3 separate regions of the Homo sapiens genome follow, and all the other regions are linked to region 1. Evidence: promoter capture Hi-C in human tissues and cell types (Jung and others, 2019). All regions are on one chromosome and are shown on one strand. The core of a region is centred on a gene start or on the middle of the fragment in contact, and the rest is flanking DNA. Distances in the headings are between cores, read along the strand shown.

Region 1 (3,597 bases), core at 505-3,004:
AAAGAAGCAATGAGGTAATTATGGAACTGTCACTGGTAGAGGGTCTGACTGCAAGTTGTCCAGGTTCTTGGCGTTTTGAACAAAGAATTGGACAAAACGCCCAGCAAAGCAAAGAAAGAATGAAGGAACAAAAGAAGGAAAGCAGGGATGTATTGAAAACGAAAGCACACTCCACAGTGTGGGAGCAGCCGGAGCAGCGGCTCAAGGGCCAGGAAACAGAATCTTCTTGGGTCCAAATACCCCCTAGAAGTTACCCGCCACTTCATGCTCACCTCATGTAAATGAATTCGTAGCCTGCAATCAGTCTGATTGGTTGCAGAAAGCAGCCAAGCAGAGGCTGAAGTGAAGTTACAAAGGTCGCACACCTGTGCAAACATCTGATTGGTTGCAAGAAGCAACCAATCAGAGGCTAGGGTGAAGTTACAAAGTTATACTTCTATGCAAAGTTAGACTCGGCTGCAGTCAGTCTAATTGGTTGCAGATAGCCAATTTCCCATCTGCTGGGCAGAAAAGTTGGGTGGGGGGTTTGTTACTTAGGTGTGGAAAGTTAGGGTTTTCCTTTCAATTTAGTTCCAGGAAGTTGGCATGAACCAGTCTTAGGTTCCCTGCCTCCAGTCCCTATTCTCCTGCCTCAGAACCATCACCCAACATCCCTAGTGGGTAGCAGGGGAGAACCCTCTCCTGCCCCGCTCATGCCTAACTACCTGTAACAGTTTGGCTGTGTCCCCACCCAAAATCTCATCTTGAATTGTAATTCCCATAATCCCCCTGTGTCAAGGGCGGGAACAGGTGGAGGTAATTGGATGATGGGGCTGGTTTCCCCTGCGCCCTTCTCGTGACAGTGAGTGAGTCCCACAAGATCTGATGATTTTATAAGCGTCTGGCATTTCCCTTGCCTGCACTCACTCTGTCCTGCCACCCTGCGAAAAGGATGGCTACTTCTTTGCCTTTTGCCATGATTATAAGCTTCCTGAGGCCTCGCCAACAATGCGGAACTGTGAGTCAGACCTCTTTCCTTCATAGTATTTCTTCATAGCAGTGTCAGAACGGACTAATACAGTGGGTTTCCCATAACATTTGCAGGACTGCCTGCCCCATCCCCCTCTGGCTGTAAACAGCAGGAGTCACACACAGGCATCTTCCATGTCCCCCACACATCCGGCCCTGAAGGGCAGGGGGCGCATGGGTTCTACGTTTCATCAGGGGTTCCGAACCCTGGCTATGCACTGGAGGCCAACCCCACCTCACCCCACCCCACTCCACCCCAGTGGTTCTGAGTCGGTCCAGTGTGAGGTCAGCCCTCCTTCTGTTGTTTGGTTAGTTTCCACACTAGGTTCTACTGGGAAGCCAGCGTTGAGAACCGCCGCCTCAGGCGAAGCTGGGACTCACACCCACCGGCCCTGGAGGCCCGCGGAAGGTTTCCCTGGGTTCCAGCACCCGGGAGCCGCGCGTCGCCAGGCACCACCCCGCGGGGGCGGGCGCGGGCCGCAGAAGATTGGGCCACGGCGGAAGCCTCTCCGCTCCCTTAGCGGGAAAGCTCTGCGCGTGACTCGGCTGCGCCCATCGCTGCGGGAGCCGGGGAGGGGGCGAGCACCTTAGGCCGGGCGGACCGAACCAACGCGCCGCCCGGAGGGGCGGCCTGAGGGCAACCCAGATCGGACCATCGCGCCACGCCGACAGGGGCCGGCCTTTCCAACCCGCCCGGAGGGAGGGGCCGCCGGCGCCTCTAGCCTGCAACGCGACCCCTGGAGGGCGAGACACGCCGCCGCCGCCGCCGCCGCCGGCGCGGAAGGACGAGGCTGAGGCGAGAAACGAGGTAGGAACGCCTCTCCGGAGGCGGGCAGGGTCCCACAGACCCACTGCCCCGCGTTCCAAGGTCTCCCTTAGGGGAGGGCCTGTCTTCCCACCTATGTGCCTTCAGCGCCTGCCCTTCCCTTCAGCCCTTCCCCCTCGGCTGCACCCGCCCTCTGCGTCCGCCCCGACCCCCTGGGCAGACCTCGTCCCCAGCCCTTCTGACCCTTGGCCTTCTCCTGACCCTTCAGCTCTGCGTCCACCGGACCTTCAAACACCCAGCACCCACCGTCCCTTTGGGCGCCACCCCAGATGCATCCCCAACCGTCTCCTCAAACTGCCCCCTTGGGGACACCCTCCCCCCACAAAACGACTCGCGCCCAGTAGTCACCTTGGTACCCCAAGTCCCTGTGACGGCTTTGGGGAAGCGTGGCCGCCCGGCACCCAGGCCGGCGACTGCAGCGGGGGCCTCCCTACTGCCAGTTCCCGGCCGGGTCCTCTGCTCCCTCCACCCTTTTAGCCCCTGCCTCCCTTTATTATCCGCCCGGCGCCGGCGTTGCTTCAGTCTCTGTCTCTCTGTCATCCAGTTTTACCTGGAGAAAACCTTTGGCTTGGCAGTAACCGTCCCCTACTACTGCACTCACTTGCCGCGAAGGGCACGGTGATCCTGTTGCCCACAGTTGGCTGTGGCCCTCCAGGCCGGCCCTGCGGACACGGGGAACTGTCCTGGGGGCAAGGACGGTACACTACTCATCTTTGTATCCCCGGTCCCCAGCACGGTGCCTGGCACATGGTAGTGTTGCTGGTGGAGGGTCTTCACTACCAGTTGTCCTTTGCGTTTTGAACAAGTAATTGAGCAGCGGAGGAATGAAACGCAGGAACAAGTAGATCTGAGTCAGGCAAGGATTACCACTATGTGAACAGTGTCCGTGATAAAGAACACAGGCCTTAAAAAAAAAAAAAAGGCGGAATTTACAAAGGACAAAGGGCCTGAAACCTGTTTTTATTTATTCCTAGGTGGGTGACCTGAGCAGATTTAGTTTCCTGGGGGTTTGGGTTCCACGCGGAAGCAGGTGGTATCGCTGAGGGATGAAACAATGGCTGGAAAGCTGTAGGAGTTGATAAGGTAGAAAGTAGTTACCTAATTAGTAGTGGCATTATTGTAACTGGGGCTCAAAGTATTAGCAAATAAAAGTAGTGACTGGATTTTCTTAGCCGGCTCCTTAGATATTAAGCAGTGGTGGATGGCTTAATGGAAGGAAGAGCAGATCCAAACAGTATACCTGGTATTCTGTTAGTTATGCCCGTCCTGCTGTATGGCCAGCCACTGTTTCTCTTCTGTTTTGAGCCAGGTTAGGATCCCTCTGATTTCTGTGCTGGTATTTAAGATTCCTTTTTGAAGCCACAGTTGCCTTAACTGGAGGCTGGACATGTTCTCATTCATCCATTGCTAGTTTTGATGTATCCTTTTCCGCTTTCTGTCTCCCACCCTCTTACATGTCTTTATAAAGTCTTGGATCAGGCCAGGCACAGTGGCTCAGCCTGTAATCCCGGCACTTTGGGAGGCCCAGGTGGGCGGATCACTAGAGGTCAGAAGTTCAAGATCAGCCTGGCCAACATGGTGAAACCCCATCTCTACTAAAAATACAAAAATTACCGGGCATGGTGGTGTGCACATGTAGTCCCAGCAACTCAGGAGGCTGAAGTCCCAGCAACTCAGGAGGCTGAGGCAGGAGAACCCCTTGAACCTGGGAGGCAGATGTTGCAGTGAGCTGAGATCATGCCACTGCACTCCAGCCTGGGTGA
Region 2 (3,597 bases), core at 516-3,015, 410 kb after region 1:
TTTCTTTTTATATGTGTGTAGGACAGGTTGAAAACCCACTCAGGAAATTATTATCTCTTTGAACATTGTTCTACAAAAGCTTAATCAGGAGCTTTTTCAAATTTCAGGGCAAAAGAACTTGAAAGCTTCTCTCCTTTTCCTCTTTATTATCCTCTTATGCCTGTGTCCTGATTTTCCTCTCCTGTGGATTCTCGGAGACATGACTTCTCTTTCCCATCAGAGAGCAAGCTTTCTGAGTGAAGCATCATACTCGGTTACATCTCTCAGCCTAGCACAATATTGTTCTGGGTTAGAGGTAGGCTTTGGGGTCAGACAGGTCTGCACTTGATTCTGGCTCTGTCATTTACTACTGCGTGACCCAGAATGGGTGCTTTATTTATTTATTTGTTATTTTGGGGGACAGAGTCTCACTGTATCCTCCAGGCTGGAGTGCAGTGTCACGATCTCGGCTCACTGCAACCTCTGCTCCCAGGTTCAAGCGATTCTCCTGCCTCAGCCTCCTGAGTAGTTGGGATTACACACCCAGCTATTTTTTTGTATTTTTAGTAGATATGGGGTTTCACCATGTTGGTCAGGCTGGTCTCGAATTCCTGATCTTAGGTGATCCACCCACCTTGGCCTCCCAAAGTGCTGGGATTACAGGGGTGAGCCACCATGCCGGGCAACAGTGAGAGCTTTAACTCTCTAAGCCTCCTATGTAATGTGAGGACAATAGGTTTGTTGTGAGATCTAAAGATACATTTGTAAAGTGTAATTATTCTAGCAATTATTAAAATAGTTGGGGAGGAAAAGGAAAGGAGATTATTGCTTATGAATGACTCCTTTTGTGCTTTCCTTGTGAATATTTAGGTCCCAGAATTTACCCAGTGTGTTGTAATAATTTATATTTCTGTCTCCTGTCCTAGGTAAAAAGCTCTTGGAAGGCATGGATTGTCTTTTTTCTACCCAGCCTCAGCACCAGGCACAGAGTCTAGTTCAACAGATGTTAGTTATATCAATGAATATAATTCTAAGTGTCACAATTATCTTTAGATAATGATTTCAGAAAATTACAGAGACTTGAAAATCCAGAGAGCAATAAATCTTAGACTGCACAGATTCAATCTGTCTCCAGTTCTTCCCTCGTTGTGCATGAGGGCAAACTTAGGCTCAAGAAAGTTCACTATGTTTACTGCATATACATGTCTCAAAGCCCATGGACATGCTGCCCAGGGAAGGCAGGAGAAGCAGTCCCCTTGGATTAATCAGCTCCCACACATCCCCAAGGACAGTGAATCTAGGAGACCTCTTCCACCTGTTGGCATCTTTTTTTTTTTTTTTTGAGACAGAGTCTCGCTCTGTCACCCAGGCTGGAGCACAGTGGCGCGATCTCGGCTCACTGCAACCTCTGCCTCCCGGGTTCAAGCGATTCTCCTGCCTTGGCCTCCTGAGTAGCTGAGACTACAGGCGCACGCCGCCACACCTGGCTAATTTTTTTGTATTTTAGTAGAGATGGGGTTTCATTGTGTCGCCCAGGCTGGTTGCGAACTCCTGAGCTCAGGCAATCCGCCGCCCTTGGCCTGCGAAAGTGCTAGGATTGCAGGCATGAGCCACCGCGCCTGGCTGGCATCTTTAAAATGACACCAATGAAGCTTATGATTCTGGGGTCTAGCTGCTCTCTTCGTTGGTGAATAGGTGGATCACTTTGCAGACCTGTTCTACTTGGTGGGCATGCTTCTGAATATTTTTCTAAAGGTGCTGTAACTTTTGTTGCTTTCATTATTATACAAGTAAAATGTTTATTGTTGCAAGTTTTAGAAATGTAGAAATGCCAAATAAAAAGCAGTCACCTGCAAACTCACTGCTCAGAGGAAGCCCTATAAAGATTGCATCTTGTAGCTCTTCAGACTTCTGTCTGTGCGTGTTTATAGGTGTAACACAAACATTGCCAGCACTAACCACCCTGCATGTACAAATGAGGTCACATTTTCATGAATTCCTAGATTTTGCAGACCACACTCCCCATCCAAATAACATCAGTGCCTCAGTGTATTCACCTCTAGCCCTGTCTTCCTGTAGCCTTCCCCATTTGTTTTTGAAGCTCCCTAGCAGCTGCTGCACACATTTTGCACTTCATGCCTTTCTTCTCTCTCCTTCCCATCATCCTTTGGGGCCAGAAGGAACCAGGCTTCTCCCAGGCCTGGATATCATGGCCTCCATCTACCTTAGAGCTTCAAACTTCGGCTACATGGCTGTCGCATGTGGAATGGAGGAGCTTTCTACGTTATAGGAGATCTGCATGGGCTGGGTCCTCGTTTGGTCCTTGATTCAGTGTGTTGAAAGGGAGAGAAAAAAGAATTTGGAAAATCCTCTTAGGAAACTGGCTTGACTTACAGGGCAAAGTCCAATTTTGAAGGTCAAAGACTGCATGCATATTAAAGTCCTTCTCCTTGCATTCTTTTTGTAATAATTCAACTCTCTCTCCAGACAAATGCTCTGGAACAACTAGGAAGAAACTTACATATTTGGAAAAGTAACTTTAAAGAGCAGGTTATCAGTCTAGGCAACATAGCGAGACCACGTCTCTACAAAGAATAAAAAAGTTAGCCAGACGTGGTGGCACACACCTGGAGTCCCAGCTACTTGGGAGGCTGAGGCGGGAGGATTGTTTGGGAGGAGGTAGAGGCTGCAGTGAGCTCTGATCATGCCACTGCACTCTAGCCTGGGCAACAGAGCAAGATCCTATCTCAAAAAAAGTATATTACTACTTTTCAAAAATATTACCTCTATAGCATATAAGAATTTATTTAACAGATGCTTGTGGCAGGTTGTTTGCAAGTCTCACAGGATCCATATCCCCTGAAGTGCAGCCTGGACTATAATGCGGGCTCCTCCCTTTCAGACACATGGTGTGGTGCTTCGGTTAGTCAGGTCTTCTTTCACAGCTGTCAGTGAAGACTTGCTTTTTCTTTTGTTCATTGGTCTTCCACATCTCTTGTTAAGTTTATTCTTGTTTGTTCTTAGAAGTTTTATAATTTTTGTTTTAAGTTTCAATAATGCCTTCATTCTGTCTTTGAATTAGTAATTACTGTTATGTAGGAAAATCACCGATTTTGTATTTTTATTTTTAAATTTTAGAATCTAAATTTATTATTATTATTATTATTATTATTATTATTATTTAGAGATGGGATTTCACCATGTTGGCCAGGGTGGTCTTGAACTCCTGGAGTCAAATGATCTGCCTGCCTTAGCCTCCCAAAGTGCTGGGATTATGGGCATGAGCCACTGCTCCTGGTCAAAAATTTAAATTAAGTTTTATTTAAAAATTTGAATTTTTAAATTAACTCTTATTAGTGTTAATAGTTCTCCAGTATATTCTTTCAAGTTTTCCAGATATGTAGTCACATCATCTCTAATATTTCTACCTTTTATTATACATTGTTATTGTATTAAGCTAACTAAAAATGGTGGAAGTAAGCATTCTAGCTTGTTCCTGGTTTCAACAGGAATCTCAAAGTGCTGGGATTACAGGCCTATTTTTTTTCACCATTAATCATGATGTTGACTACTGGTTTGAGATATTTTTCCTTTTAATAATGTTAAAAGAGTATCCTC
Region 3 (3,597 bases), core at 591-3,090, 350 kb before region 1:
AGGTCCCAGTCTCAACTGCCCCTACAACAGATGCCTGGTGAATATGGCCCCATTAAGATCCAAGTCCCCCTTTCTCTTCAGGGCTTATTGCAAATTAAGGGGGATCTTGGCAGGTTTTCAGATGGCCCTTAAGGTTATATATAGGCCTTCCAGAGCTTAACCCAAGTATTTGAGCTCTCCTGGAAGGATCACCATGTTACTTTTCAATCAAACCCTGACCAATGCTGCAAAGCAGGCCATTCTTGGCAAGTGGCAAAAAATTTTGGGAATGAGCTTTACATCTTGCATAGGGCCAGGGAAGGGGAGGAGCCTTATCTAGTTGGAAGAATAGCACTAACATTGGAGGACCCTAAATGGGACCCCAATGATGAAATGGGAGAATGGAGGAAGAAACTCTTTCAGGCGTGCATACTTGTGGGCTTGCCTGGGAATGGGCCTAGGCCTTTCAATTGCAGTGGACTATCCATGGTAGATCAAGAATTGGGTGGGAGTCCCACTGCCTCCCTAGAAAGGCTAAGAGGGGTCTTGGTAAAACACACCTATCTCTTGATTCAATAGGGTGACAGCTGGTCCTAGGGGATGAGTTTATTACTTAGTCAGCCCCTGATATCAGGAGGAAACTGCAGAAAAGTCCATAAGACCGGGTAATACTTTAGAGGACCTCCTGAAAGTGGCCACCTTGGTCTTTTACAACAGAGATCAGGAAGCCCGAGAGCAAGGAGACACAAGAAAAAGGCAAAGGCTCTAATAGCCACCTTGCACAAACCTCAGAATTCCTAAGCTGTACCTGTTGGCTGCTGTAAATGCAAACCATTGGAGGGCTAGCTGTCCCTGAGACATGGGCTGCCAGGTCCAGGGCCGGTCTCCCAAATGGTACAGTAGGGCTGATGGGTCCCAGGGTTCCTTTCCCTGACTTTGGTGATTCAGACTGCTATTGCCATCCTGGAGCCTCGGGTGATTTAGGGGATCGAGAGAAGGAGGATGGGCTTCCTCCTGGACTTGAGTGGGCCATTCAGGTCTCTTCTCCAATCTAGGCCCCTTCTCCAATATAGACCCCCTCCTCTGTTAGCATGACTGTGAGGGTCATCTCAGGAAAAGCCCAGCCTCTTAATTGTCGCCTTCTTAGGCTAGGTCCCCAATTCCTGGGACTCCCTTTATCTCCCTTGTTTCAGGAGGACCTGGCCCCACAGCTTCACCTGCTGTTGATAGGCAGGCAACAGAGGAGCAGCTCCTGGCAGTTGCTAGCTGCAATTTGGTGAGGACCATCTGGGACTAATTTAAAGGATTCATCCACCCTCCTTTTTTGGCACCTTTTTGTCCCAAGCTTCAGTTTGAAACCCTGGAATGGAATACTAGACCTGAGGTAGATGACAGTGGGAGTTGAGGGGCACAGTGCAGGTGAGTATGACTAATTCCCGCTAATTAGGTCCTCCCGTTTCATGGATGGAGGTCATGCTCGCATCCATGGCATAGATAAGGTCCAGGGAACTCAAAGGTTACTGACAGTGGAAGGCTTAGGCTCTGCTCAGGTGAGTGTGAATATTCCTGTTGGCTATGCCTCCCACTTCATGGATGAAGGTCACACTTGCACCCATGGTTGGGACTTGAACAGGTTGCCAGGACTCAGGTATATAAGCTTGAAAAAAGAAAGAGGAATGCCTTTTCTGCTCTGTGTCACGTACCCCGGGTATTCACTGGGAAGAGAGAGGAACAAAGGATGCCTTTTTCCCCTCTTTCCAGATGGGTAACCAACCAATCATTTTCAGCCTGCACTCCGTGGGCACATCCTAAATCACTGAACAGGACTTTAGAGTCAGTAGGGCTCCATGGCTTGGGGGAAGGGAACCCAGAAGTCTGAATGCCAGCAAAAGGGTAAAAATTCTTACCAGTTGGACTTCTGGCTTCTCTGTGGGCAAACTGGTTGCAGGAATGATAAAAATCACTATATTCTCTACCCCTCCATGAGTTCAAAAGCCAGAAGTGTTGGCCTTTGTGGCATGGCTGAAGTTGGGTAATAAGAGACTTAGGACTTCTTAAGAAAGGAGTGTTAGTTAAGTCAGCTTAATTAAAAGTCAGCTTAATTAAAAGTAGATGTCCATGGATATCCAAGCTATAGGTATATGTAAAAGGCCTTTATGTCTTTTCCCTTCGTGGATCTTGTTTTTGGGAAAAGGTTTTTTCTTCTCAGTCAACTGAATTCTCCATTTGTGTCTTGCCACTCTTTATGTGCAACATGAGGGGCCCCAACTTAACCTCAGATGGCCTAGGACTCCTTGGGAAAATGGAGGAGGTGCCACTGACCTGTTTTTGGGAAAAACCTCTGTTTTCCTGATAGAGCCTCAGAGATTAGAGGTGGATGGATCCCTCTCAATTTTTTTTTTTAATCTTCCAGCTATGCCTACTTATTAGACCACAGAAACTATGTTTTCCTGGCCCTGGTTCTTGAAGGGCTCCACCCCAGGGCCAGCAATGCAATTAAGAGATTGGCACATGAGGCCGGCCGCGGTGGCTTACGCCTGTAATCCCAGCACTTTTGGAGGCCGTGGTGGGTGGATCATGAGGTCAGGAGATCAAGACCATCCTGGCTAACATGGTGAAACCCCGTCTCTACTAAAAATACAAAAAAATTAGCCGGGCATGGTGGTGGGTGCCTGTAGTCCCAGCTACTAGGGAGGCTGATGCAGAAGAATGGCGTGAACCTGGGAGGCGGAGCTTGCAGTGAGCTGAGATCATGCCACTGCACTCCGACCTGGGTGACAGAGCGAGACTCCATCTCAAAAAAACAAAACAAAACAAAACAAAACAGATTGGCACATGAAAAATCTTACAACTACTGGATCTCCGTTTGTGTAGATATATATATGTCATGTGTGATGTTTACATAAAAGAGCTCTAACTGATTGGCTTAAAGAAAAATAGCACTGTTGGGCACGATGGTTCATGCCTGTAATCCCAGCACTTTGGGAGGCTGAGGCGGGCAGATCACTTGAGGTCAGGAGTTTGAGACCAGCCTGGCCAATGTGGTGAAACCCTGTCTCTACTAAAAATACAAAAAATTAGCCGGGTATGGTGGCTCGCACCTGTAGTCCCAGCTACACGGGAGGCTGAGGCATGAGAATCACTTGAACCCAGGAGGCAGAGGTTGCAGTGAGCCAAGATCATGCCACTGCACTCCAGCTTGGGTGACAAAGTGAGACTCCATCTCAAAAAAAAAAAAAAAGAAAAGAAAAAGAAAAAAGAAAAATAGTGCTTAGGCTTGGTACAGTGGCTCATGCCTATAATCCCAACACTTTGGGAGGCTGAGGTGAGTGAATCACCTGAGGTCAGGAGTTTGAGACCAGCCTGGCCAACATGGTGAAACCCCGTCTCTACTAAAGATACAAAAAATTAGCTAGGTGTGGTGGCTTGTGCCTGTAGCCCCAGCTACTTGGGAGGCTGAGACACAAGAATCACTTGAATCCAGGAGGCAGAGGTTGCAGTGAGCCGAGACTGTGCCACTGCACTCCACCCTGGGTGACAGAGTGAGACTCTGTTTCAAAAAATAAAAAAATGAAAGAAAAATAGCACTTAGATCAAATATTTTGAAAGAATAGTAAA

Evidence for each region. Contacts are between HindIII fragments. The study calls those that stand out against the background at their distance.
Region 2: a fragment that was not itself captured here is called in contact with the fragment with the promoter of RUSC2 in region 1 in 1 of the 25 tissues and cell types used here (spleen).
Region 3: a fragment that was not itself captured here is called in contact with the fragment with the promoter of RUSC2 in region 1 in 5 of the 25 tissues and cell types used here (IMR-90 fibroblasts, aorta, dorsolateral prefrontal cortex and 2 more).

Annotation. Positions count from the first base shown.
Region 1 is chr9:35,488,357-35,491,953 of GRCh38, forward strand. RUSC2 (RUN and SH3 domain containing 2) reads left to right here and starts at 1,755. Exons shown (of 12, transcript NM_014806.5): 1 at 1,755-1,816. It overlaps LOC105376026 (a long non-coding RNA gene), which reads right to left and starts at 3,271. Exons shown (of 2, transcript XR_929580.4): 1 at 3,075-3,271; 2 at 2,763-2,900. RefSeq lists a silencer at 1,424-1,723. The HindIII fragment of the contact is 10,278 bases long and covers 1-3,597 here.
Region 2 is chr9:35,893,898-35,897,494 of GRCh38, forward strand. No RefSeq gene overlaps it. Among named protein-coding and RNA genes, the nearest start is that of HRCT1, 11 kb to the right of the region's middle. RefSeq lists an enhancer at 1,493-1,992. The HindIII fragment of the contact is 7,635 bases long and covers 1-3,597 here.
Region 3 is chr9:35,140,698-35,144,294 of GRCh38, forward strand. No RefSeq gene overlaps it. Among named protein-coding and RNA genes, the nearest start is that of UNC13B, 20 kb to the right of the region's middle. The HindIII fragment of the contact is 3,957 bases long and covers 1-3,597 here.